7 separate regions of the Homo sapiens genome follow, and regions 1, 2, 3, 4, 6 and 7 are each linked to region 5. Evidence: promoter capture Hi-C in 16 types of primary human blood cells and fetal thymus (Javierre and others, 2016). All regions are on one chromosome and are shown on one strand. The core of a region is centred on a gene start or on the middle of the fragment in contact, and the rest is flanking DNA. Distances in the headings are between cores, read along the strand shown.

Region 1 (3,989 bases), core at 90-2,589, 380 kb before region 5:
AAAAAAATCCTCCCAAAATCTCATAATGTTTTAAGAAAGTTTACGAATTTGTGTCAGGCTGCGTTCAAAGCTGTCCTGGGCCACATGCGGCCCATAGGCTGTGGATCGGGCAAGCTTGCTCTAAAGTATTACAGGCTGGTAGCCCGGGAGGAAAAGTGTGTTCTGGCACCAAAGACAACCCATGTCTCTCACCTGGAGATGCACTGGTAACTGAATGACTGTGGGGCATGGGCGTGGCCCTGGGGGATCTTTAGACTTTTGTGAGAAAGAGAGGAGGAGAGAGGTGGGTAGCCACATGCACATGGGTGGGCTGCAGACCCCCAAATCTCCTGGAAGACACGGACAAGACAGGTGACATGGCTGCTAATTTTATGCTTCAGCACCTGGCTCTCCCCAGTCATTAGGGGACAACTACATCCCACGGGCAATGGGAACCCAGAAACCTAGAACCCCAAGGCAGGCTTGGGCCTCAGATCTTCACCTCAAGCGTCCATCCTTCTGCCTCGGGGCAGGACTGCTCTCGAACAACCCCTAAGTCTGCTCTCTTCGCTAATGTTCTTCAGAACCTTCTCAGTTTGAGTGCTTCTAACTACATAAAAAACCATTAAAGTAGCTACTATTTATTATCTACCTCATGCCAGGCACTGTGCTATGCATGCTGCTTAGCACACCTATTATCTGTTCAATCCTCATCATAGCAAGGAAGGAGCAAGCTATTCATCTTTGTGTTTACAAGTGAGAAAAACTGAGGCTGATGGAGGGCGAGCAACTTACCCGTGGGCACACGAGAAGGAGCAGGTCCAGAATATCAGCTTGGTTCTGATTTCAAAGGTCTTTCCACAATAAGCTACTAAGGATTCTCCTATATTCACCACTTGTTCATTTGTTCAGTTAACATATATTTTACTTTTATTTATTTATTTATTTATTTATTTATTTTTTATTTTTGAGGTGGAGTCTCACTCTGTCACCTGGCTGGAGTGCAGTGGCGCAATCTCGGCTCACTGCAACCTCTACCTCCTGGATTCAAGCGGTTCTCCTGCCTCAGCCTCCCGAGGAGCTGGGATTACGGGTGCCTGCCACCACGCCTGGCTAATTTTTGTATTTTTAGTAGAGACAGGGTTTCACCATGTTGGCCAGGGCTGGTCTCGAACTCCTGACCTCAAGTGATCCTCCCACCTCGGCCTCCCAAAGTGCTGGGATTACACGCGTGAGCCACTGCATCCGGCCTCAGTTAGCATATATTTTTGAGCACCTACTATGTGCCAGGCATTGTGCTGGGCACTATAGCTGAACTGAGTTCCTTCTGCTTCAGTATAAGCTAGCTATTTCTTATCCTTCTTATTAGGGAAAAAGATAAAAGTGGACTAATGAGTGATTTCCTCCATTATTTAGGGAGTTGAGTCAAATAAGGTAACACGAAAAACCTGAAAAAATGGTTTTGGGTCCTTGATTCTTTCTGTCTGTTGCTCCCGTGCATCTCTCCACCAGTTGGGAGAAAGATCAGCGTTATCTCTGAATGTATGGGAGAGCCAGGGGAAGGTCTTCAAGGGCTGGGACAAGCAAGTATCCTGCAGGGCCCACTCCTGGTGCCTGGAGGTATGTGAGATGTAACTTTATCCAAGTTTATCTAGATATCCCTCAACTAAGGGGTGTCCTCAGTCCCTTCCCTTCCCCCATTCTACACACACACACACACACACACACACACACACACACACGCATCTGTTCTGATATGGTCTAGGAGCTCCATCAAGGGCAATCTCGATTGACCCAGAATCATGGGTCCTTTGGTGCTGGGGACACGTCACAGGTTTGCCCTGCTATCTGCTGCTGGGGAAAGTTTTGCATTACCTTTCCTCTGACACTACCACTTAAGGGCTGCTGTTGGTCATCAAGAAACCCCAGGGGCTGCTGAATAACTAGGGGTAAAAATAAGGAAGTCAAGAGGGGACAAAATGGCAGATGTGTTTCTCTTAATGCCACAAAGACCTGCAGAACTGGGACTTGTTAAAGAAGACTCTGAGTGTGTCATTGTTATGGAAGCAGGCTGGCTTGGCCATGGACTGTCTTACAGGCTTTTGGAGTTGGCCTGGGAAGAGGGCATGGTGGGCCTTGGTTAGACTGCCATTTCCACACTTGCTGTCTGCTGAGGATGGCTCCTCTCTATGCTGGATGGACCCAGGAGGGGACAAATCAATGAACTTTCTGGTGATTGACAGTTCACCCCTCCCTAGGCTGCCTGGTTCCTAAATTAAGGGGACAAGATTGCTCAGGATCCCACTGATGGGTTAAAAGTCTTCCTTCCCTTCCTGTAGAACAGTGATCAACTTCCCCCTAGGCTCTTAAAAATTATAAAATTCAAAGGGAGGCAGTGGAGATCCTGGCGGCCATGACTGTGCTGTAAGAAAGGCATTTAAGGGGAAAGGCTCAGTAAAGGGCTTTAATAAAGGAACCTCTCTCTGGAGAACGAAGCTCAGCTGATGAACTGAACAGAAGATGCTCTTGGCATTAGGCCTTTTGGAAATGTCTGTTGCTGTAAGCCCCAGATCCTGGATTCTATGGAAGCTTAGAAAAGACAAAGAACTGTGGGTTGGTTGTATGTGGACACTCATTGCAATGCCTTTGCTTCTGTGCCTAGAGCGCTTGACTCCATTTATTTATTAAATAGCCATGTATGAGGCACCTAATATATGGCACGTGCTAAACAGCTAGCCTGTTCCCTCAGGCTCTGATGTGTCAACTCTGTAAACTTTCTCCCAGGAGGAGGGACTTGGGAACTTGTGTCTAACTTCGTTCTCCCTGTCTGGCTCTCTGTATTTATGTTTCTCACTCTCCACATCTCACTACAAAACTGGTGAGATCTGAATAAAGTCTGTGCTTGAGTAATGGCATTGTGCCAATGTTAATGTCCTGGTTTTGATAACTGTGTTATGGTTATGTAAGATGCCAACTTCAGGGCAAGCTGGGTGAACAGTATGTGGGAATTCTCTGTACTATTTTTTCAATGTTTCTGTAAGTCTAAAATTAGTTCCAAATAAGTTAAAAGTCTCCCTAAGAGTCTTGTCAACTCTCCTTTTCCATCTCTCTCTTGGTGTTGTCATTCCATCTGTCTTTCTATCATCCTTTTAGTCTCTCTTTGCCCTTTCTCTCTGCCTATCTCCCTTTCTCAGTTTCTGTCTCTGTCCTTCATCTCTCCTTCCCACAAAAATCTGCTCTCCTCCCACGTGAACATCTAATCAGTCAACAAATTTCTGTTGATTAAACTTCCTGAATAGCCGTCAGCTCTTCCCTTCTTTCTAGTCCCACTTCTAAGGCTCCTGGATCATAGCATTACTGCCTATACTTACAGTCACCCAGATACGTCCAAGAGCCCCTCATTGGACTTCCCACCTCTTGTATGGGCTCAGCTAGTTCATTCTCTACCCTCCTGCAGTTCCAATTAGGTCTCTTCCACAATTAACACCATCACTGGCTCTGTGTTGCCTACTGAAAAGTGCCCAACCAAGCTTCATCATAATCAGGTCCCTATTTCCCCAGCGTCCACTCTCTCCACCAGTGGCATAACTAGCTCAAATGAGTCCCAAAGCAAAGCCCAACAGGGAGTGGATTCTGTTCTGCAAGAACAGTGCTTCTTTCTCCTGAAGGCAAGAAGGTGGGTTTGCATATAGAAAAGTGGGCTGGGTATGGAGGAAACCAGAGGAAAGCCTAGAGGGAGCAGAGAGGGGATTTTATTTCAGTACCTGCAGGGGGAGCCTACCAAAGAGAAGGAAGGAATCCTGTAGGCCACTGTGGTCATGTGGTCTTTGCGGTCTGGTTGCTGCTGTGCAGAGACTACAAGTGATGCTAAAGCAGCCTGTGTCTTCCAGGTGGATAGGAAAATAGTCTGGGGTCACAGCAGAAAGTGTGGCCTCATCCAGCCACACCAACACCTTGTCCCTTTCAGCTGCCAGCTTTCAGCAATGCCGCCTCTAGCCCTGTCATTGAAA
Region 2 (3,770 bases), core at 650-3,149, 260 kb before region 5:
CGAGACCCATTTTGAACTCCTTCCCTACAGAACTATAAGATACATTTGTGCCATTTTAAGCCACTCAGTTTATCGTAATTTGTTATGGCAACAAAAGGGAACTAATATAGTGAGGCAGAAGAAATCTGAGTGGCTCATCCTTGGGCAAATGGGAGCCAGTGCTGATCCTTTTACTGTTCTCGGGTGCTCTTGCAACAGGAAGTGACTTGCAGAAGTCCTTTTTTATCTGAAATGCCAGGGAGGATGGACTCTTATTCAGCCTAGCTTCTATTCAGCTCAAAGGAAAGAACATCTGCCTTTTTCCCACATCTTCTCTGTACCCCTCACTTCCTTCTTGTGGGGGAGATTCCTTTTCTTCGGTGAGTTCCCTTTGCGGTGTGGAATCTCGTGGCAAGGGCTCTGAGTAAAGGAGGAGGGTTGCATGGAATGCCATTGAATTCATTAGGCTTGGACTCTAGCAGGAATGTTGCCTGGGGTGCTGATGTCCTTCTCAACCTTCCTTTGCTGGAGTCCTTCTTGTAACTTGTCTTCCTTTTGTGAACAACCTGGGTGTAGTTTTTAAAATAAGCGAATTCTCCTAGAAGTGTTAAAAATGAGCCTTCAAGTACTATCTCGGCATTTTGCAAAGGTTAAAGCCCCCACTGTTTGGGGGCTGAGGGTGCTCTATGGGGGGCCACCCAAAAGCAACTGTGGAAACAGAGTCTGGCTTCAGTCTCTCCAGATGTTGTGCACATAAGGGAGGGACTCTTGAGCTCATAGATCACAGATCTGTCCACAGGCTGTCAGTAGGAAAGAGCATCTTATTTTACAGATGGGGAAACTGAGGCCTAGAGAGCATAAGTGGTTCATGCAAGATCTTACAGAGAGTTTGTGAGAGTCTGAGAGCTGTTCCCCCTACTATTGCAACATTTGGAATGTTCTGAGGTTCTTACCTTCTATTATCAGTTTGAGGGCTGTAGATGAGTTGTGGTAGCTACAGAGATGAGCTTTCCAGTGTGCCCCCACCAAGAGATGAATGAAAGTCATCATCGGGCAGATCACTGCCTACTAAAAGGGGTGGGTTTTTTTGGGGGGAGGTTTTACTCTTCGTCACAGAACTTGAGAATATTTCTACTGAGGATGACTTTGTCTTTGGGGCTTCCATTTTATTTTTAAGATTCAAGTGTAGTTTTAACTGCAGGGCATTAGCTCCCTTGTAGGTCACCTCGTGCTGTCTCTGGGGTTTATGACTGAGCTCTCATTCCTTAGTCACATGTCCTATACTCACACTTCCTATCCCATTTTCCTGCCTCACCAAGATCACCACAATGATCCCAGGTTCTATATAGCATTTCTTTTCTGGAGGTCTTTAAAAATATTCTGGGAGATCTGTCTGGAATGCTTGAGTACATTCATTTATTCCTGTATGCATAGAGGGCCCAGGGACCTCCCAGGCTCTCTGAGCCCTCTGATTCTTAGAGGGTTAAACTATTATGGAAACAGACATTGCATCTGTGTCTTCTCTTGTTTCCTGCATGCAGCAGTGACCTTTGGAGTACATTGTTCAGGAGACCGACCCTTTTCTACCATTTGAAGTCTGCTATTCTCATCTCTCTACCAAAAGAGAAACTAAACTTCATTGTCGTGATTAAGGTCACAGCCAACAGCAGTTAAAGAAGCCGTTGGTCTTCCCACTCATACCGCTGCCCTCTCCCTAGCTCTCAGGAGGAAGAGCTCTCCAAAATGGAAGTGTCTTGGGAAAGAAATGGAAGTGGAAAGAGAAAGATGAAAAGGCCACCAATGGCACTTCCCGTGTCTCAGCCTCACCAGAGAAGGAACTTGGCCACACACTGGTTGGGTATACCAAAGTGACACAATGTGGATGTTCCAGTGGCAATTAAGTATTTATATGACTAGACTTGAGGAGTTCCAGGCCATGACACTTCCAAATCCTTCCAGCCCGCTTGTGGAGAGAGGCCCGGAGGCTTCCAGCGAGACAATTAGAGTGTGAATTAGATTGTGTCTTCTGGAAGGGAGATGAAGTTACCTGCCTACTCTATTACAGTTTATTTCATTAAGGTTGACCATGCCCTTTTTTTTGGGCAGAGGGAATAGGATGGATTCTCTGGAGAAAACAGTGTAGCAAGGCAATGGAGAAATGTCCACACTGGAGTAAGGGGCTTTCTGGGACCTGGATGGAGTCTCCTTCCTCCCCTAGGGAATAGGACAGAGGTGGGAAAGGTGCTGCCTGACTGCTCTGTGCACATCTGCATGTTGGTGATGAGTGTGGCCAGCCCCATGCTGTGCATCGGTGAGAGGACCGCTCAGGCAGGTGTTGCTGTGCTGGCAGCTTCTTAGGAAGGCAAGGAGCAAGGCGTGGGCTGTGGGGCCCTTGGGGCAGAGCCTGTCATGGAGTGGGATGAAAGGGTGCACGGGACCTGTTGGCAGCCCCAGCGGCCAGGCTCTGTTCCCAAGCTGGAGAGAGAGGCAAGTGGTGAGGGAGGGCAGGAGGACCAGTCATGGGTTTAATGCAAAATGACAGTTACGGGGGTTGCCATTTTAGAGTAAAACAGGCCATGTGACTGAGGAGCAGGTAGCATTCATATTATTCATATTTCGAGCTTGGTAGATGTAGAATTTTGCAGTGGAGGCCAGGAGAGGATGTGAGAGCTGCAGGACAGAGGCATAGGTTTTTGGAGGTGGTTGTGGTGTTCCCCGATGGCAATCAACTTCACGGAGAGAAGAGGTTATTTTCTACTTAGGTTGCCTGGAGCCTACATTCCAAACTTTTAGTCCTCTTCATCTAGCACTAAGTTTTGCATCTCCCTTATTCCTGTCATACATTATTAGTGTGCACTGTTTTAAAGTCTTTTACATACATATGTCTTGCATTCCCTACTTAATTGTAAGCTCCTTGAAGGCATTGCCTGTGTATTATGTTTCTTTGAATCTCTCTGTGGTGGCTAATGCTCTGCCCTGCATTTAGTAGGCAATAAGTTTGTGTTGAGTTTTGAGTCAACTACCACTCTTTTCTCCCTTCCTCTTTTTTAATTTTTTTTTAAATTATTTTTTATTTTTTATTTGACACAGAGTCTTGCTCGGTTGCCCAGGCTGGAGTGCAGTGGTGCGATCTCGGATCACTGCAACCTCTGTCTCCCGAGTTCAAGAGATTTTCCTGCCTCAGCCTCCTGAGTAGCTGGGATTACAGGCATGCACCACCATGCCCAGCTAATTTTTGTATTTTTAGTAGAGATGGGGTTTCACCATGTTGGCCAGGCTGGTCTCGAACTCCTGACCTCAAGTGATCCACCCGCTTCTGCCTCCCAAAGCGCTGGGATTACAGGCGTGAGCCACTGTGCCTGGCCTACTCCCTTCCTCTTACAAGGCTCCTTACTCATTTCCTGCGTCTCACCTGCTCTCTCAGCCCAGTTTTCTAAAAAAAGAGGTAAGAGATGGATGCCAGTCTCTTTCTCCTCCAGAGTGATTTTGTGAGGATTTGTACAATGCAAGTCTTGAGATGCAAATGGACATCTAGGAACAGAGGAATTGCTGGAGCATGGAGACCACACTTCTGAAGATGGAAGGAGACCCTTCTCCAGGCTGTCGCTTTTGATTTGCGGTTTTCCCATTGCCAATTGCTCACACTGATCCCCAGTCCTGAAGGGGATGGGGGCTGCCGCTAATTCCCTGGCATCTCATGACTTCCTGTTTTCCTCCAGTTATTATTTTTATTGTACTTCCTTCCTGCTTCTTCACTCTCCGGCTTCGCCAGTTTGTTCCGTGTGATCATT
Region 3 (3,680 bases), core at 1,041-3,540, 350 kb before region 5:
TGACTATACACACCTGTGTGGGTGTTGACACACATAGGTATATATATATATATAAACAGATATAGCGATAATATATCTCAAAATGTAGATTACATGTTGAGAAAATATACGTTACACATTGAGAAAGAGAATATAAATCTTTTTTTTTTTTAGATCGAGTCTTGCTCTGTTGTCCAGGGTGGAGTGGAGTGGTGTGATCTCAACTTGCTGCAACCTCTGCCTCCTGGGTTCCAGCGATTCTCCTGTCTCAGCCTCCCAAGTAGCTGGGATTACAGGTGCCCACCACCATGCCTGTCTAATTTTTGTATTTTTAATAGAGACGGGGTTTCACTATGTTGGCCAGGCTGGTCTTAAACTCCTGACCTCAGGTGATCCACCCCCCTTGGCCTCCCAAAGTGCTGAGATTCCAGGCGTGAGCCACGGCCCTGAGAATAGAATTCTTACCACTATGTTGCTGTTATTGCTGGGTTATGAGCTACAGGAGGATTTCAACTTTACTGCTCCCTAGTCCCCCTTGTTTGTGACCTCAAATTTTATTACCCAGCTTCACCACCCTCTTGAGATATTGGTGCTAGTTTTGAAAATCAAATCTTCCCTCTATGGGCAAGACATGCCATGACTGAAGATTTTAAAAAAAATTAATGCTATGTACTTGGAAGGCAATACCAAAAGATCTCCAAGAATGGCTGAATGGCTTCCATGACATCCTCATGATGGCCCCAAACTGGCTCTGGTCCCAAGTCCTGGCTCTCATTGGCCGTATGGCTTTGGGAATGCTGTGCCACCTCTCTGTTCTGCTTCCTCTCTTGTAAAATGGTGAGATTGGACTGATGCAGGGCAGGTGAACTCCAACCTGGGGCTTAGCCCATGAGGGTCATTGGTTTCATCCAGGAAAGAATTCAAGGGCAAGCTGAGGTAGAAGAAAACAGCTGTACTGAAGCAGCCGTGTTACAGCTCCAGTGGTGCTAAGCTCTGTGACTGCTCCTGCAGACCAGAGCCGCTCCATAGGCAGAGAGCAGCAGCTCAGGGCAGCTTTGCAGTCATATTTATACCTACTTTTAATTACATGCAGATTAGGGGTGGTTTATGCAGAAGTTTCCAGGGAAGGGGTAGTAACTTTTGGGTCAGCAGTTCATTGCCAAGGAAAGGGGCAGTAACTCCCAAGTATTGCCATGGCAATGGTAAACTGACATGGCACACAGGTGGGCTGTGTTATGGAGAGCTGCTTCTGCCCGTCTGTGTTTTAGCTAGCCCTCAATCTGGTCTGGTGTCTGAGCCCCGCCTCTGGAGTCGAGTCCCACCACTCACCTTAGGACTAGTTGATATTTCAAGTCTCTTTTGCTTCTAAGAGTCTATCTGGCATTTTGAAGAGGGCAACTATTTTGAAGAGGGCAAACTCTTGCATGCTTACGGAAAAGTGAACTGCCTTGTCTTCTAGTTATACCTAATGTATACGAATAGGCATGAGTGCCTGGTGAGTACTCATTTAGAAATGAACATAACAGCTTTACCAGTCTATCTATTTTTCATATTAACCCACCGCCCCATTTCCTCTCCTCAACCTAGAGGAAAGAAAAAGAGGCTGGGCGTGGTGGTTCACGCCTGTAATCCCAGCTCTTTGGGAGGCTGAGGCAGGCAGATCCCCTGAGGTCAGGAGTTTGAGATCAGTCTGGCCAATATAGTGAAACCCTGTCTCCACTAAAAATACAAAAATTAGCCAGGGATGGTGGTGCATGCCTGTAGTCCCAGCTACTCGGGCGGCTGAGGAAGAAGAATCACTTGAACCTGGGAGGTGGAGGCTGCAGTGAGCCGAGATCACGCCACTGCACTCCAGTCTGGGCGACAGAGTGAGACTCTGTCAAAAAAAAAAAAAAAATCAAAGAGAGAAATGTTGGGTGTCCTCTGTTATATTTGGTAGGGGAAAGGAAGGGGCATGGCAGGAAAGCCAGAAAAGAGACCTAGGAGCATCTCCATATTCAGAAATAATTCATCAGCCAGAGTTTTTTTTTTCTCTTTGCCATATATTTATCAGCCTGACGCTAAGTTATCCAGCAGAAATTTGCAGGGCAATGGCCAGCCTCTAGTTGTTAGCTAGTTGACCAGGACCATGTATATTTAGCTTAATTATACCAGGAACCTGGAGTCACAGAGGGCTGAAGTACAGTGGTGTGATCGTAGCTCACTGCAACCTCAAACTCCTGGGCTCAACTGATTCTCCCACCTTAGCCTCCCAAGTAGCTGGGACTACAGGCGCGCTACTATGCCTGGCTAATTTACATATATATATATTTTTTGTAGAGACAGGGTTTTGCCATGTTGCCCAGGCTAGTCTCAAACTCTGGAGCTCAAGTGATCTGCCTGCCTTGGCCTCCTGAAGTGTTGAGATTACAGGCGTGAGCCATGAGCCCGGCCCCATCTCCTTCCCTTCTCTTGATGCAGGACCAAATGCCTCTGCCATCAGGAATGGAAATTAATCCAAAGAGGAAGTATAAGGACAAGCAGTCCAGGCATGGAGTCTGTGGGAGCTGGCTGCTCTTTAGCTTTGTGGCCTCAGGAAGGCTGCTTTATCTCTCTGTCTCATTTTCTTCAGCTGTAAAATGGGTTTGACAACAGTCCACAACTCATGGGATTATTTGGATAAGTAAAGGAGATGACACATGTCAAGAGCCAGAGCCTGACACCGAGTGAGTCCTCAACCTGTGTTAGCCATAGGTTATTCCCTCATAAGCAGTATTCAATAAATGTCATGGCCAAGATAAATGGAAGGTATGGTTTAAATTTGTTTATACCTATCAAATCAATATTCATTCTACATAAACAACGGAGTTTATCAAGCTGCTGGCAGGGGCCCCTCCAAGAGACTGTAGGAAATTGCTCAGCCAGACAATGGTTACTCTGTTACCTTTGACCCAGGCAGGCTCTGTGTGGTGCTTGTCCTCCCAAACACCTCCCCCTCCCCCATCCTCTTTCATTTTGGGAAACAACAGTAACACAAGGCCTCCCACCACCTGCCCTTCCTGATTCCAGCCTTGCTTATTAAACAGTAACCTTCCTGAGGGCAGAATTATTTTTTGACTGCAGATTTCCCCCAGTGCCAGCCCAAAGGTACCCTCGGATTTTTAACAAAGCAGCAACACAAGCACCCTAGGGCTGGGTGGTGGACTTTTTTTCTTCTCAGAGATTTTCAGAGACCAAACTGTTCAGAAAAGCAAAACAAGCTGCCCACATTCAGGGAACTGCCATCTCTGCCAATTCGTGATTAATCAACAGGGAAGAAGGTTGGTTCCTTGAAGGAAAATAAAAGAAATACGGACTGGAAGGGGGAAAGTCACGGAGAGTGGTGGATCTGGGATAGACAGCTTCCTTAACACTTCCTCCTTCCGTGTAGCCCTCTGTGACTCCAAGTTCCCGGTATAATTATGCTAAATATATGTGGTCTTGGTCAACCAGCTAACAGCTAGGGGGTAGCTGCTGTCCCTGCAAATTTTGCCTGGATAACTTAGCAGCTGGCTGACAAATATATGGCAAAGAGAAAAAATTCTGGCTGGCAAATGATTTCTGAACATGCAGGCACCCCTAGAAAATCTCTTTTCCAGCCGGGTGCGGTGGCTCAGGCCTGTAATCCCAGCATTTTGGGAGGCCGAGGCGGGTGGATTGTGTGAGGTCAGCAGTTTGAGATC
Region 4 (3,855 bases), core at 284-2,783, 290 kb before region 5:
TTTAGGGATTGAACTCAGAGAGAGCTGTCTGGGGGCCATCCTTCCAGCAGTCCTGACAGAAAACTGGCTTCATGGAGTTGGTGCAGTGCAAACTGGAATGATTCTCTTAGGGAACTTGGTTCTCTCAGACAGTGTGGTATGTTGAGGGAAAGGAAGGAAATCATGGTTTGGCTGAACAGCTGGGCAGAGCAGCAAGGGAAACTGAAGTATGTTAGAAGAGCAGGACCGGAGGATAGAGCAGACGGGGGCCACAGGAGGACTTCTGGAAGGAGCCCACAATTCAACTCCTTTGAGGGCCTTCAACATCTATTTAACGTTGTAACATTTTGAAATTCTATTTTGAGGGGACTAGACTCTCAGAGAAGGGGCGTGAAGAATGTGGGGGACTTAGGTGCAAATGTGTGTGCTGGGGGGCGGTATTTAGGGCTCTTGGTGGAGCCCCTCATGTCATGGAGAAGCGAACCCTTTCCACTGTGCCCCCACCCCCTTTTCCTAGCCCTATGAAGGGCTCAGACTTTCTTGGAGATGTGGAGCATTTCAGCCAGACCCTACGGTCAAAGATCAGTCACAGAGCAGTCTTCTGTGGCAACCTGTGCACAGTCCCCCAAGGCAGCAATCTGGGGTCACCAGGGAAGTTACTGTTACTAATCTGACCTGGGAAGTTTTCTTTTTCGTAGGGGAATCTAGAAATACTCCAGGGAAAGCCACGGCCAAGCCTTTGCCCAGCCAGTAAACTTTTAGGGCTTTTGCGTGAGGTTGGTTTAGAAGAATTTGCCGATGCCAAGGCTGCTATGTTGGTTTCACTGATGCAGATTTAAAGAAGGAGGGCCAGTGAGACCTCGGGAATAGGAAGGCAGAGGAAACCTTTCTATTCTGATGTCTTCAAGTCTTGGTGCTTGAATGTGCCAAGGAGAGTGAGGATGTAAATAATTTAGTTTGCCTTCAGGATGCAGGATCTAATCTAAACATGATTAAGCTGATTTGATTTTATAGATTGGAATTTATAAGTGATAGAAACTGATGAGGTTAATGTGAAATATTTACGTAATAAAAAGCTTCATTACCTGATGCTGAAGGGTAGAGGGAGAAAATATTCTTGGCAACATGTTTAATCTTTTGGAAATGAAGTTGGGTTAAAGTTTTCTTTGTAAAAACTGAATTCTGTGATCTTGTTTTTACACATGCTGTGCTTAAATATTAACACCAATTGAGCAAATTGCCTTTTAACTGCCTTTATTTGCTTTCATTAACAGTATAATTTAAAAGCTCAAGAATTTGCATGGAACCTGTTGTGCATGTTGGGGGGAAAACTATTCATAAATTAATTAATCGTGAGAACATTATCTTTAAGGAAGGTCACAAAACATGAGCATGATTTCCAAAAAGCAGTGACATGTTTTTGCCGTTTCTTGGGGACGTGATGTACTTTTGGCTTAGAGATCTGTGCTGCGTGTGTGTGTGTGTGTGTGTGTGTGCACGCGCGAGATAACTTGGCTGGATCAAGAAAAATTTTAATGACTGGGCATGTTTTAAGTTAAGTTGAGTGAACCTAATTACACTGTAGTTTCCAGAGAGCTAAAGGCAATAATACCATTGGTATTTAAGCACTAGTTTGAAAATTAAAGCCAACCTATATAATTGGCTGTGCTCCTTAGATGGTTTATTTCTTTCTTCCCTCCATTTCTGAAATCCCCCTTTTCTTTCTCTTTCACATTTAAACCAATAGAGAGAAAGAGAGAAACTGCCTAGCGCTGCGAACCACAAGACGGTCCTTCCAGTGGGGAACATTAACTGCATTGTCCTCTCATGAAATGACGCTAAATAATGTTAAAGGTTTCCAGTATGATTTCACTGAAATTGGTTGCTTCCTTCTGTACAGATGTTTTTGTGGTTTAGAACCTCAGCCAAGGCAAACATTATGAATGAGATGCAGAGACCACCATGTCCTATGAAGGGCTGAGAGTTCCTTTGGGAGTTATTTTACTTGTGATTCTGACACCTCTGTTTTGACAAAGCTTCATTCTTTCAGTCTCTTCTTTCCGTCTCCCTCTCCTGGTGCTATTGGTTTGTTGTGGGTGGTTTTCCTAATTAAGTTAATCTGCAACCTAGTTTTTCTGGGTCCACAGATGCCAGAATGCTGAATTTATTTATCTTGAATGTTTTTGTTGGCTACTGTTGAGACACATTCTTCCTCTTCCCCTTTTACCCCAAGTCTGTTTTAAACATTTTTTTTTTGAGGCTTCCAGACGCACTTCAATAAAGAAAGAATTTCTCTCTGGTGTCCATTTGTCAATTTTTTTGTGGGGGATGTATATTGTAAATAATATAATAGATATGTAAAAGGTTGTAAATAAAACCCAAAGGTTATAGAGGAAAAGATGTGTAAATTTGACTACATCAAAAATTTAAAACTTTTTGCATGATTTTCTTTCGGATTTTTGCCTTTTCCTTGCACATTTGTTGGTTCTCTTTCGATATAAATCAGAAAAATGAATCTTTTATCTGTCAAATGCATGGCAAAGATTCTTCCCAGTCTATCATTTGTCCTACAGTTTTGATTATGGTTCCTTTCATCACAGAACATTTCTATTATTTATTTAACTAAAAAATGTCACAATGATGTCTGTAGCGTAGATTTTATAAAGCATCTGATGGTCATATTTTATAATCTAAATTTTGGAAAAGTATTTGGATAATGAGAGATGGAGAAGGTAGAGGGAGAGCAAGGGAGGGATAGAGAGGGCACGAAGATGAGGAAGGGAGGGATGAGGAAGAGGAGAAAGACTGGTGAGAATGAATGATGTTAAAAGATTGATTTTTCTTCCTGTAAAAAAGTTGGCTGTCGTCAAAACACCCCTTCTGTCTAAGGGAAATATTGTCCTTTTGGCATGTACTTGAACCATAAAGATTTCTCTACTTGAGGAGACCTTTCCTAAGAGTTACCTGTCCAGAAGGCAGTCCTACTGTTCTCTCTCATAGCTCTACCCAGTCTTTAAGACCTAGTTGAAATGTAGGCTCCATAAAGCCATTTCTATTTTCACACAGTTCATTTTCTTTTTTTTTTTTTTTTTTTAAGACAGGGTCTCGCACTATCACCCAGGCTGGAGTGCAGTGGCCTGATTATATAGCTCACTGTAGCCTCGACCTTCCAGGCACAAGTGATCCTCCCTCCTCAGTTTCCCAAGTAGCTGTGACTACAGGGAATGCACTACCATACCTAGGTTTTTAAATTTTTTAAAATTTTTTCTTAGAGATGGGATCTCACTGCATTGCCCAGGCTGATCATGACCACCTGGGCGCTCAAGCCATTCTCCCGCTTAGGCCTTCTAAAATGCCGGGATTACATGCATGAGCCGCTGCACCCAGCCCACACACTTCATTTTTATTCTCAAGGTACCTGCTGCTTTCTGGCTTATGGAAGATACATCTCTGCATGTCTAATCTTTCTTAGAGTGTCATGTGATAGCAGAGATGCTGTCTTCTGTCTCACTCGTCTTTGAATTCTATACTGTCTTTAGCGGTGTATAACAACCATTTATAAGTACATAAGTGATTTACCAGACAGGTCAATTCTTATCCATTCTTTCCTCCTATACGTTCTTCTGGGACATTCTTCAAAAGAGATATTTGGGGTCTTGAAGTCCAACACTTCGGGTATTTGGCATAAATTAGGTTGAGGACACTGGTTGGAATTTTGGGAAGAATGAAGGGGAGAGAACCAAGGAAGAAGGAATTCCAGAGCTGGTAGCGTTGATTTCAGAGTATTCTCAATCTAAAAACCCTGTAATCATGACCTATTCCCAAAGGTGAGTTCATGGCAGCTTATTCAACAGATATTTATTGAGTACCTGACAA
Region 5 (4,007 bases), core at 268-2,767:
GCAAATAAGGAGTGATCAGCCAGGTAAGAGAAGAACCAGGATAGTGCAGTATTATGATGAAAAAAAAAAAAAAAAAGTCACTGCAACCAGTACTTATGTTTATTACTGTACCTAATAAACAGCCCAGCGTGGTGATTCCTATTCACTTAGTAGCCTCCCCATCTAGAATATACTCCGTGATCTTTCTTGATGGCCAGACTGTGTAAAATTCATACAGTGTTTACTACAGGGATCCCCAAATATTGTTAGTTGAATGAACAAACACACATTTCAAGGAGGGCACTACAGTGAGTAGATGAACAGTTTTCTGATAGGAGATTGTACAAGTAATGTTTTCACCAGTGTATTTTAGGACAGCAGATTCAGATTAATGCGCTGGGACTGAATGCAAATAGTAAAATTACAAATATAAAGTAAAAATTTGGAACCTTTGCCAAAGAAAGGAATAATAAATTGATTTAATAATTTGAAAGAACTGTAAGGTTTAGGTTTTGTTCTTATTTTTAGTGCGACTGAGATTGGAGTCTGTTTGTAGACATATCTGAAAAAAGTGAAGGGGGAGATGGAAGATGGTAAATGCCAAGGAAAAGATGGAAGGATAAATCAGTGTAATAAAAAGGAGCACTTCTTTTTCGCCAACAGAAGTAAAGGTAAAGGTTAAGTGTCTGAGTTAACGAATGGATTGTTGACCTCTGGGGAGGGTGCTCCCATCAGCTCAGCTTTGTGACGACCTAAGAATATCCCTTCCACACCTTTCCTGATCCAATCGTTCTGGCTGCATAAAACCACCTAAATCAATCAACTGTTACACTTCCCTTAGTGCTAGGACATATTCATATAACTCCCACGTATTAAATGAAAATACATCCATCTAAAAATAAAACAACACGATTGCTGCTACACCAAGAAAGGATTTTAAAAAGGCCTGTTCACAAGCTAAGTGAGGGCCAGAGGAAAGGTGTTCGTTTAAACTGAAATTCGAGCTGCGATAACACCTCCTAATGCAATCAAACGCTGTTGCAGCACACTTCTTAGGAGATCGGGTTCAACGGCAGGGATTGGGTAAGGTGAGAATCTGGCTTGGCGGCTCCGGCCCCGGCCATCTGGTTCCCTTGGGCTCCGGCCGCCACCATCCACTCGACGGCTCTCGGCCCGAACGCTTGGTCGCACCGCCTGCCGAGGTCCTAGATGAATCGCTTCAGGCCTGGAAACGAGGAAGCCGTCTCCGGAGACCATCGCCAACGCTGACGCCCGCGGTCTGAGGTCGCCATGGGAAGAGCGGTAGGCCACCCTGCTCCTCTGATCACCGGAGGACAGGGACACATTGTTCAGGGCCATATTCAAACACTGCCCGCAGTACTTGCGTTACGTCCCTTTGTGAAGGCAGGCCCTTCGCGGCTCCCCAGATCAGTCCAGCCTGTGTCGGACCCGATGACTAAGCACACAGGAACCCATAACTGAGCCTGCGGAAGAGCCAGAAGCCGCCTTGCCTTTAACGAGGGGTATCCTGGCGAGCATGCGCAGACCGTCCGCGCACGTCGTCGCCCGCTGAGAGCAAGCGCAACGGGCGTTTTCGTTTGTGACGCCAGGGAGCGTGAGGACGTGGGGCTTCCGTGAATGCGCAGTGGGTGCGTCGGCCACGACCTTTTGGCCAGGTTAGGGAGGGGGCGACGCTGAGATGGGGGCGGCGGCGGCGGAAGCGGATCGCACTCTCTTTGTGGGCAACCTTGAAACGAAAGTGACCGAGGAGCTCCTTTTCGAGCTTTTCCACCAGGTAAGCGGCTGGGTTCGGCCCTTTGCCTTTCGTTTTCCGTCTCGCCTAGGGCCTGGCCAGCGGCCACCCCGTTTTCTTTTCGTAGCCGTCAGGGGACCCGACGGGTGGCTGTTTGGGGGTGAAAGGCGGGTCTGGGTTGCGAAACGCTCGCTGGGTGTCGCTTTCCTGGAAGATCTTGGTTCGTTTAGGCCGAAAGTGACGACTAAAGGTGGTGGAGGGATCCTCGATCAGGTTTCCCGTGGTAGAGATCCAGGGGTCCTTGGGAACACAGTGTGTGTGTAGGGTCTTCGTTGAGCAGTGCTTTTTCTTATCCTTCCTGTTGTCATCTTCCCCTTAGGATAATTTGTCTTTGGTTTATCTGACTGGGAACTTAATATTTTAATTTATTTGTGTCTGTTTTCCCCTAAAGTTTGCTTATCAAATTGCAGCATTATTAAAATATGTAAAATAAAATGGTTAAGTACTCCGTAGAAAAACAGCATTTTAGTGTTGCTGTATTAAAAAGTGTGAAAAATTCTGAGTATCCTATTCCCCCCATCCCTATCCCCTAATAACTGGTATTGTTTGATTAATCAATACAAAAGTCCGTTTTTAGTTAAAGAAAATCATTCTCTTGTTCTTGATAAATGTTCATTTTCATGGAGTGGCAAAATAATGGCGATTGGTCACTATGTTAAGCCATACAGTGCTGTGAATTGCAAAAGTGATTGTGTTTCCAGTTCCTTATGGGCCCCCTTCCCCAAATAAATCTAATGTTCAGTCATAACTAGGATGTTTACTGTAGCCAAAATGGAAATCCGTGCATCATTTTCAAAAGAAGTTTCTGATTACGTTTCTGTTGTTTTTAAACTTTGTCATATCTTATTTGTAAAATTTGAGTATTTTCCCTTAGTTGCTTTATTTAAATTCTAAACACCTTTTTGTTTGTAGGCTGGGCCAGTAATAAAGGTGAAAATTCCAAAAGATAAGGATGGTAAACCAAAGCAGTTTGCGTTTGTGAATTTCAAACATGAAGTGTCTGTTCCTTATGCAATGAATCTACTTAATGGAATCAAACTTTATGGAAGGCCTATCAAAATTCAATTTAGATCAGGTAACTGCCCAATGAGGTTCGGGGGGCATTGTTTCCTGCTGTTTTTAAATTTATTATTCAGTTTTAAAGAACCTCTTATTTGTAGATGAAACTTCTTTCTTAAGCATTGTGAATAGTAAACTTTATATAGCAAACTTTATATATCCCTGAAAACGGGTAACATTGACACATGGATTTTGAAATTAGAATTTCAAAACTGAGCTTAAAGTTTCATTTTGGGTTAGTGAAAAAACATAAACTGTATCACTAAGAGAGCTGGGCTTGGGTACTCTGAAAAGAGCTAGGTTTATTTTCTGAAAATACTTCTCCTGGCTGCTTTGTAATTACTTTTATATATTTTGGTTCTTGATCATGTGAGGATGAAACTGTCCATGTATCCAGTGTTACAATTTAGGGTGGAGATCAGAAAATTATGGTCAGATTGGATATTTATGGAGTGCTTTGTTTTGCTTATCTGATATTATACACTTATAATTTTCACCCCGATGAAGCCGTAAAGCGGTCTACAGCAGCTTGAGATTCTTTTTTTTTTTTTTTTTTTTTTTTTTTTTTTTTTTTTTTGAGATGGAGTCTTGCCCTGTTGCCTAGGCTGGAGTGCAGTGGTGCAATTTCAGCTCACTGCAACCTCTGCCTCCCAGGTTCAAGTGATTCTCCTGCCTTAGCCTCCTGAGTAGCTGGGATTACAGGTGCACGCCACCACGCCTGGCTAATTCTTTGTATTTTTAGTAGAGGTGGGGTTTCACCATGTTGGTCAGGCTGGTCTCGAACTCCTGGCCTCGAGAGATGTGCCCACGTCAGCCTCCCAAAGTGCTGGGATTACAGGCGTCAGCCACCGCGCCCGGCCAGTAGTTTGAGATTTTTCTCTTTTAGATTGTGTTTACCTTTTTGGAGTGATTTCAAGTGGGGAAGACAAAATTTCAAATTAGATTTTCTATCAAGAATAATTTTTCAAATTGTTTCATTTTAGGAAGTAGTCATGCCCCACAAGATGTCAGTTTGTCATATCCCCAACATCATGTTGGAAATTCAAGCCCTACCTCCACATCTCCTAGCAGGTAATATTTCTCACTTATTGTTAAGATCATTTATCAGGAATTCTTATAGGGAATAGCCTCAAAACACATGAGTAAATAGTCTCCT
Region 6 (3,972 bases), core at 296-2,795, 420 kb before region 5:
AAGCCTAAGATAGGAAGGTTGGAAAAACCGAGGCCAGGCAAAACATCCAGGTTATCCGGCTGCCTATACCCTCCCCGAACTTCACTCCCTACCCAGTTGTTCCAAGATCTTCAGGCACCCAGAGCTTGCCCTGTCTCTTGAGCTCCCAAACTAACCCCTTTTCCCCCGCCAGCGTGGATGTGGGGAAGTCTCCAAATATCCCGTACGTGTATATTCGGCATCAAGGCGAAGTTCAGAACTACAAGCCCCTTCAGGTGGTGACTGCCTGTAGCCTCGACATCTACAACTTCCCCTTCGATGTCCAGAACTGCTCGCTGACCTTCACCAGTTGGCTGCACACCAGTGAGTATGTGGGCTTCGCCGGGACAGGGGTGGAGGTTGGGGGACCCCAGGGACACCTGAGCGAGGAGTGCTCCCCAGGGCGCCTTCTCACGTATCCAGCCTACTAATGCCCTGGGCCTCTGCTTCCTCATCCTCTGCATGAGGTAGATCTGCTGCTCTTGCTGCCCCAACAGTAAGAGTTAAACACTTTTATCAGTAGAAACTTCATATAGCACAGTATATTTTTCCAGATCCTTCTCTACACATTTACATTCACACATTCATGTGTGCGTATATATACACACATACACATCTATGGAAAGTACATGGAAATTGCTTTATGAGTTCTTATTTTACATTAATATATCAGTATTCAATGAGGGTGTGAACTGACGGCAAGACGCTCAGTAAGGGACAATTTTTTTCCAATATCTCCAACAGGATCTGGCACTAAGCATCTCTCAGATCCATTTATTTCACTTCACCCCCATGCAAACCACCCTCGTCTCCTGCCTAGGTTTCTGCTTTAGCCTCCTAGCTGGTTTCCCCATGCATTCGTGTCCCCCTAAATTTGCGATTCTCACAGAAGCCAGTGAGATTTTAGTAAAATGCGAATCTGACCGTGTCACTTAAAACCCCTCAATGGGATCCCAGATACCCTGGAACACAATCCACCCTCTTGAGCTGACTGCCACAGCCAGCTGCTCCAGGCTCATCTGCTCCTCTGAGCTCTGCTCCCACCCAGCTGCCTTCCTTTCTAGCCCCAAACCCTCATATTCTTTCCCTTTATCACATGTTGTTTCCTCTCCTATGCTACCTGGCCCTTTCCTCCCTCTCCCAACTTGCCCCACAGCTGCTCCCCCCAACCACACCTAGCCTGGCCAACCCCTCTACTCACCCTTCTGATGGCAGCATAAGTTTCAGCTCCTCAGTTTACCCTCTCATCCCCTAGACTAGGCCATCCCTGTTGCCCAATTTATAGCATCCTGGTCCTCTCCCCACCTCTGTCACCCTTGTAAGTACTTATTCAATGTGTCCTTCTCTCCTAGATATAAACTTAGAAAGGGGCGGGTGCAGTGGCTCACAAATGTAGTCCCAGCAGTTTGGGAGGCCAAGGCAGGAGGATTGCTTCAGCCCAGGAGTTTGAGGCCAGTCTGAGCAACATAATGAGACCCTATAAAAATAAAAAGTAAAAAAAACTTGGAAAGGGCAGGGACATGATTTCTCGCCCACCTTTAGATCCCCAGCACAGGGCCTGGCACAGAGGAAGGGTCTCAGCAAATGTTACCGAGCAGATGAATGCTAGCTAAGGGCTTGCCAGAGGGCTGGTGAAATGCACACCACCCTGTTGCAAGAAGGCATCCCCCAGGCCGGGCGCGGTGGCTCACGCCTGTAATCCCAGCACTTTGGGAGGCGTAGGCAGGTGGATCACGAGGTCATGAGATTGAGACCATCCTGGCCAACATGGTGAAACCCCGTCTCTATTAAAAATACAAAAAATTAGCCAGGTGCAGTGGCAGGCGCCTGTAATCCCAACTACTCAGGAGACTGAGGCTGGAGAATCACTTCAACTCGGAGGGTGGAGGTTGCAGTGAGCCGAGGTTGCACCACTGCACTCCAGCCTGGGTGACAAGTCTGACTGAGACTCCGTCTCAAAAAAGAAAAAAAAAAGGCATCCCCCACTTCTGTTCTGATGTATTCATTACCTTAAACTTAAGTTATGACGGTGATGCATGACTGCCTTGACCAAAACCAGAACTACAGATAAGGCTAACGTCTGCTTTGACTTCTACCCTCAATCCCAAACTTCACCAACAACAGGAGTTAACCACTTTTATCAGTAGAAACTTCATCTAGCACAGTATATTTTTCCAAATCCTTCTCTACACATTTACATACACACATACACATCTATGGAAACTACATGGAAATTGCTTTACGAGTTCGTATTTTAGATGAATATATCAGTATATATATTATTATATACTACTACTTGATTCTTTTTACCCAACATTAGGTCTTGGACATTTTTTGGAGTTCATGCACATTTAGGTCTTCCTCAAAAATTTTAGCTGCTATAAAATAGCTCATGATTTTGGAAGGCAGCTGTGCTCACCACTACCACAAATGCAAACATCTAATGATTTTGGTTGCATCCTAGCTTATTAAGCATTTTCTGATTGATGGATATTTCAGTATTTTCCAATATTTTGCTGCAATAGATACTTCTGTCGTTCCTGGTACATATGTCTCTGCTGCAGATCTTGAGAAGTGGAATTACAATCTATAAGTGAGGATTTTGCTTATTTTCTTAATTCACTTTTAAAGATAGGCAGTTCCATCAAGGCAAAGGTGAAGAATGTTGACTTTTGTTCATTGTTGCAATGGGCAATTCTAACAGGGAAAGCTAGAAAGCTGTTTGGAAGGGGTGTGTGTGTGTGTGTGTTTGTGTGTGTGTGTGTGAAGGAGAGAGAGCGCTTTCTAATGAATGGTTTGCATGGTTCTTTGCACCGTGCATTTTCATTTAGGACTTCATCTGCCCTCAGTGCGGCCCTGTGAGATAGGTATGGTGAGTACCTTATTTTATAGCTGAGGACACTGAGGCTGAAGGTGATGTGCTGAGGTTGAGGTTGGGCCATCGGATATCAGCTCCCCTTAATTGCTGCCCACCTGTGTCCCATCATCACAGGGTCCAGCAGGCTCTGGGTACTAGATTCCAAAGCTGGCTTGCTTTATTCTCTCTCAGTCCAGGACATCAACATCTCTTTGTGGCGCTTGCCAGAAAAGGTGAAATCCGACAGGAGTGTCTTCATGAACCAGGGAGAGTGGGAGTTGCTGGGGGTGCTGCCCTACTTTCGGGAGTTCAGCATGGAAAGCAGTAACTACTATGCAGAAATGAAGTTCTATGTGAGTGGGAGTGAATGTGGGTAAAATGGTGAATAAAGCTTCACATCCAGGTAGACTTAAGGAGGCATACTGGGAGAACTTCTATAGCCTTTTTCCAACCCCAGGGTTGCACACATCTGGAACTTCAGTGAAGTAGATGGAGAAACTCCATGAATGTCCCTTACTTATTCTAAACAGCCATAAGCCTGGATTGAGAGGCAGGGTATGGGGGTCTGTCTGTTTTCTTCTCTGAGCAATCCAGGCTGGAAGCCCCATAAAACAAGGAATCTGAGCTTGTGGGGTGGTTCCTGGGAGCAGAGCCTGTTTGCCCCAGGCTTCCCACAAGCTCTTCTCCGGTCCCAGGTGGTCATCCGCCGGCGGCCCCTCTTCTATGTGGTCAGCCTGCTACTGCCCAGCATCTTCCTCATGGTCATGGACATCGTGGGCTTCTACCTGCCCCCCAACAGTGGCGAGAGGGTCTCTTTCAAGATTACACTCCTCCTGGGCTACTCGGTCTTCCTGATCATCGTTTCTGACACGCTGCCGGCCACTGCCATCGGCACTCCTCTCATTGGTAAGGCCCCTCCTGGCAGCAGAGCTCAGTCTGGTGAGAAACCCGCCCCCTCCCACCTCCTGCATGTGTCTCTTGCCTCTGCCCTGGGCTGCACAGGTGTCTACTTTGTGGTGTGCATGGCTCTGCTGGTGATAAGTTTGGCCGAGACCATCTTCATTGTGCGGCTGGTGCACAAGCAAGACCTGCAGCAG
Region 7 (3,763 bases), core at 555-3,054, 510 kb before region 5:
ATTTATTTCTGACAGTTCTGGAAGTTTTTGTCCAAGGTTGAGGTGTTGGCATTTTGTGAGGGTCTTCTTGCTGAGTCATCTCATGGCAGAAGGCAAAAATTAAAAGGAGCTCACATGAGAGCAAGAGTGGACAAGAGGGGCTTACCTTGCTTTTTATCAGGAACCCACTCTTGTGAAAATGCCATTAATCCATTCATAAGGGCAGAACCCTCATGGCCTAATCACTGTCACTCAGGCTGGAGTGCAGTGGCCCAATCTCACTGCAACCTCTGCCTGCCAGGCTCAAGTGAGGTTCCCACCTCAGCCTCCCAAGTGGCTGGGACCACAGGTGTGTGCCACTACATCTAGCTATTTTTTTTTGTATTTTTTTGTACACATAGGGTTCACCATATTGCCCAGGTTGGTCTTGAACTCCTGGGCTCAAGCGACCCACCTGCCTTGGCCTCCCAAAGTACTGGAATTACAGATGTGAGCCACTGCACCTAGCCTGTCCCATCTGGGTGAGCCACTGCACCCAGCCATTACCATCACAATGGCAATTAAATTTCAACCTGAGTTTTGGAGGGGACATTCAAACCATAGCAAGATGTTGGGGGTCTCTGTGTTGGTTTTCATAAAAACTAAAAATCTAGGCCAGGCACGGTGGCTCACGCCTGTAATCCCAGCACTTTGGGAGGCCGAGGCGAATGGATCACCTGAGGTCAGGAGTTTGAGACCAGTCTGGCCAACATGGAGAAACCCTGACCAACATGGCGAAACCCTGTCTCTACTAAAAACCCAAAAATTAGCCAGGCATGGTGGTGTGTGCCTGTAATCCCAGCTACTAAGGAGGCTGAGGCAGGAGAATCACTTGAACCCGGGAGGTGTAGGTTGCAGTGAGTGGAGATCACTCCGTTGCACTCCACCCGGGGCAACAAGAGTGAAACTCTGTCAAAAAAACAAAAACAAAAACAAAAAAACCCTAAAAATCTAAGCCACTTTATTGATATAATGCCTCATCTGTGTCTTGAACTCCTGGCCTCAAGCAGTCCTCCTGCCTTGGCCTCCTGACGTAAGTGCTGGGATTACAGGCATGCGCTACCATGTCCAGCTGAGACCTCATCTTCATCTTTAACTGAGCTATAAAGAGCTTATTTTCCCTTTTCTAAATGACAGATTGAAAATAGTTTTGTTGGGCCAGGCACAGTGGCTCAAGCCTATAGTCCCAGCACTTTGGGAGGCCGAGGGGGGGCGGATCACGAGGTCAGGAGTTCAAGACCAGCTGGGCCAACATGGTGAAACCCCGTCTCTACCAAAAATACAAAATTTAGCTGGGCGTGGTGGCACACACCTCCAATCCCAGCTACTCAGGAGGCTGAGACAGGAGAATTGCTTGAACCTGGAAGACAGAGGTTGTAGTGAGCAAAGATCGAGCCACTGCACTCTAGCCTAAGCAACAAAGTGAGACTCTGTCTCAGGAAAAAAAAAAAAAGAAGAAAGAAAGAAAAAGAAAGAAAATAGCTTTGTTCTCACAAAATAATTGAAATTTTTTGTTTGTTTGTTTTTGTTTTTGTTTTTTTGAGACAGAGTTTCATTCTGTCGCCCAGGCTGGAGTGCAGTGGTACAATCTTGGCTCACTCCAACCTCTGCCTCCCAGGCTCAAGTGATTCTCATGCCTCAGCCCCGCGAGGAGCAGGGACTACAGGCATGTGCCACCACGCATGACTAATTTTTGTTTTTTCATTTTTTGTTTTTGAGACAGAGTCTCGTTCTGTCACCCAGGCTGGAGTGCGGCTCACTGCAGCCTCTACCTCCCGGGTTCAAGTGATTCTCGTGCCTCAGCCTCCTGTGTTGCTGGGACTACAGGCCTGCACCAACACGCCCAGCTAATTTTTGTATTTTTAGTAGAGATTGGGTTTCACCATGTTGGGCAGGCAGGTTTCAAACTCCTGACCTCAAGTGATCTGCCCACCTTGGCCTCCCACAGTGCTGGGATTACAGGTGTGAGCCACCACGCCCGGTCTAACTTTTTTTCTGAGACAGAGTCTTGCTTTGTTGCCAGGCTGGAGTGCAGTGGCGCGATCTCAGCTCACTGCAACCTCCACCTCCTGGTTCAAGTGATTTCCCTGCCTCAGCCTCTCAAGTAGCTGGGATTACAAGCACACACCACCACGCTCAGCTACTTTTTGTATTTGTAGTAGAGACAGGGTTTCACCATGCTGGCCAGGATGGTCTGGATCCCCCGACCTTGTGATCCGCCCCCCTCGACTTCCCAAAATGCTGGGATTACAGGTGTGAGCCACCACACCCAGCCAAACTCAGCTTTTAATTGTTGGTTAATCGCTCTCTGTTTTTCTTTATCTTTTTCCTGAGTTCAAGTCAACTCAATAGCCATACCCACTCAATTCCACTGTTTTTTTTTTTTTTTTTTTTTTTTTTGGAAACAGAGTCTCGCTCTGTCGCCCAGGCTGGAGTGCTGTGGTGCGATCTCGGCTCACTGCAAGCTCCGCCTCCCAGGTTCATGCCATTCTCCTGCCTCAGCCTCCTGAGTAGCTGGGACTACAGGCGACAGCCAACACACCCGGCTAATTTTTTTTGTATTTTTAGTAGAGATGGGGTTTCACGTGTTAGCCAGGATGGTCTCGATCTCCTGACCTCATGATCTGCCCACTTTGGCCTCTCAAAGTGCTGGGATTACAGGCGTGAGCCACCGCGCCCGCCCCTGGGTCCCATCTTATACCATAATGTCAGAATCTATAGAGATGGGACCCAGGTCATTTAAAAATACTCGATGAGCCTCATGTGCTGCCATGCTTGCAGATTACTTGCTTAGACATCACAGCAGTATAACTTAGACTTCAGATTTTAAAATTTCATATTTTATTCTTAAAATATGTGGTCAAGATAGGAACCATGTGACTCTGGTAAAATTATGGCAAAGTCATCAACAAATATTTGGGGAAAGAGCTTTTTCCAGGAGGCGTAATATTTTTTTTCTTTCTTTGAGATGGAGTCTTGCACTGTTGCCCAGGCTGTAGTATAGTGGTGCGATCTCGGCTCACTGCAACCTCCACCTACTGGGCTTAAGTGATTCTCCCGCCTCAGCCTCCCAAGTAGCTGGGACTACAGGCAGGCGCCACCATGCCCGGTTAATTTTTGTATTTTTAGTAGAGATGGGGTTTCACCATGTTGGCCAGGCTGGTATCGAATTCCTGACCTCAAGTGACCCGCCTGCCTCAGTCTCCCAAAGTGCTGGGATTACAGGTGTGAGCCACCGTACCTGGCCAGGAGGAGAAATATTAACTTGAAAAAAGCAATGCCGGGTGCGGTGGCTCACGAGGTCAGGAGTTCGAGACCAACCTGACCAACATGGTGAAACCCCGTCTCTACCAAAAATACAAAAATTAGCCAGGCGTGGTGGCACACACCTGTAATCCCAGCTACTTGGGAGGCTGGGGCAGGAGAATCGCTTGAACCTGGGAGTGGGAGGTTGCAGTGAGCCGAGATCGTGCCATTGCACTCCAGCCTAGGTGACAGAGCGAGAGTTCATCTTTTAAAAAAAAAAAAAAAGCAATAAACCAGCCTGGCCAACATGACGAAACCCTATCTCTACTAAAAAATACAAAAATTAGCCAGATGTGATGGTTATGATCCCAAGGATGCCTGTGAAACCAGGTACTCAGGAGGCTGAAGCAGGAGAATCACTTGAATCCCAGAGGCGGAGGTTGCAGTGGGCCCAGATCGCACCACTGCACTCCAAACTGGGTAAGAGACCGAGACTCCG

The links. The method cuts DNA at HindIII sites, captures the fragments that hold promoters and counts their contacts. A CHiCAGO score of 5 or more calls a contact.
Region 1: a fragment that was not itself captured here is called in contact with the fragment with the promoter of C11orf71 in region 5 in 1 of 17 cell types (naive CD4 T cells); the score reaches 5.1 in naive CD4 T cells.
Region 2: a contact is called between a fragment that was not itself captured here and the fragment with the promoter of C11orf71 in region 5, in 2 of 17 cell types (naive CD8 T cells and activated CD4 T cells). The highest score is 5.1, in naive CD8 T cells.
Region 3: a contact is called between a fragment that was not itself captured here and the fragment with the promoter of C11orf71 in region 5, in 1 of 17 cell types (activated CD4 T cells). The highest score is 5.1, in activated CD4 T cells.
Region 4: a fragment that was not itself captured here is called in contact with the fragment with the promoter of C11orf71 in region 5 in 1 of 17 cell types (fetal thymus); the score reaches 5.2 in fetal thymus.
Region 6: a fragment that was not itself captured here is called in contact with the fragment with the promoter of C11orf71 in region 5 in 1 of 17 cell types (naive B cells); the score reaches 5.4 in naive B cells.
Region 7: a contact is called between a fragment that was not itself captured here and the fragment with the promoter of C11orf71 in region 5, in 1 of 17 cell types (total B cells). The highest score is 5.5, in total B cells.

What each region holds. Positions count from the first base shown.
Region 1 is chr11:114,022,792-114,026,780 of GRCh38, forward strand. No RefSeq gene overlaps it. Among named protein-coding and RNA genes, the nearest start is that of ZBTB16, 35 kb to the right of the region's middle. The HindIII fragment of the contact is 2,454 bases long and covers 113-2,566 here.
Region 2 is chr11:114,135,647-114,139,416 of GRCh38, forward strand. All of the region lies in intron 2 of ZBTB16 (zinc finger and BTB domain containing 16), which reads left to right. Among named protein-coding and RNA genes, the nearest start is that of ZBTB16, 78 kb to the left of the region's middle. The HindIII fragment of the contact is 5,674 bases long and covers 1-3,770 here.
Region 3 is chr11:114,046,333-114,050,012 of GRCh38, forward strand. No RefSeq gene overlaps it. Among named protein-coding and RNA genes, the nearest start is that of ZBTB16, 12 kb to the right of the region's middle. The HindIII fragment of the contact is 8,900 bases long and covers 1-3,680 here.
Region 4 is chr11:114,109,707-114,113,561 of GRCh38, forward strand. All of the region lies in intron 2 of ZBTB16 (zinc finger and BTB domain containing 16), which reads left to right. Among named protein-coding and RNA genes, the nearest start is that of ZBTB16, 52 kb to the left of the region's middle. RefSeq lists a silencer at 1,527-1,727. The HindIII fragment of the contact is 960 bases long and covers 1,054-2,013 here.
Region 5 is chr11:114,398,994-114,403,000 of GRCh38, forward strand. C11orf71 (chromosome 11 open reading frame 71) reads right to left here and starts at 1,518. Exons shown (of 1, transcript NM_001271562.2): 1 at 1-1,518. The coding sequence starts at 1,338. The coding sequence ends at 967. RBM7 (RNA binding motif protein 7) reads left to right here and starts at 1,673. Exons shown (of 5, transcript NM_001286045.2): 1 at 1,673-1,774; 2 at 2,705-2,867; 3 at 3,835-3,922. The coding sequence starts at 1,679. RefSeq lists enhancers at 760-1,302, 1,016-1,405, 1,303-1,845. The HindIII fragment of the contact is 8,162 bases long and covers 1-4,007 here.
Region 6 is chr11:113,982,948-113,986,919 of GRCh38, forward strand. HTR3A (5-hydroxytryptamine receptor 3A) reads left to right here. Exons shown (of 9, transcript NM_000869.6): 5 at 173-342; 6 at 3,068-3,228; 7 at 3,571-3,781; 8 at 3,878-3,972. Among named protein-coding and RNA genes, the nearest start is that of HTR3A, 9.8 kb to the left of the region's middle. The HindIII fragment of the contact is 3,438 bases long and covers 1-3,264 here.
Region 7 is chr11:113,889,161-113,892,923 of GRCh38, forward strand. No RefSeq gene overlaps it. Among named protein-coding and RNA genes, the nearest start is that of HTR3B, 14 kb to the right of the region's middle. The HindIII fragment of the contact is 7,574 bases long and covers 1-3,763 here.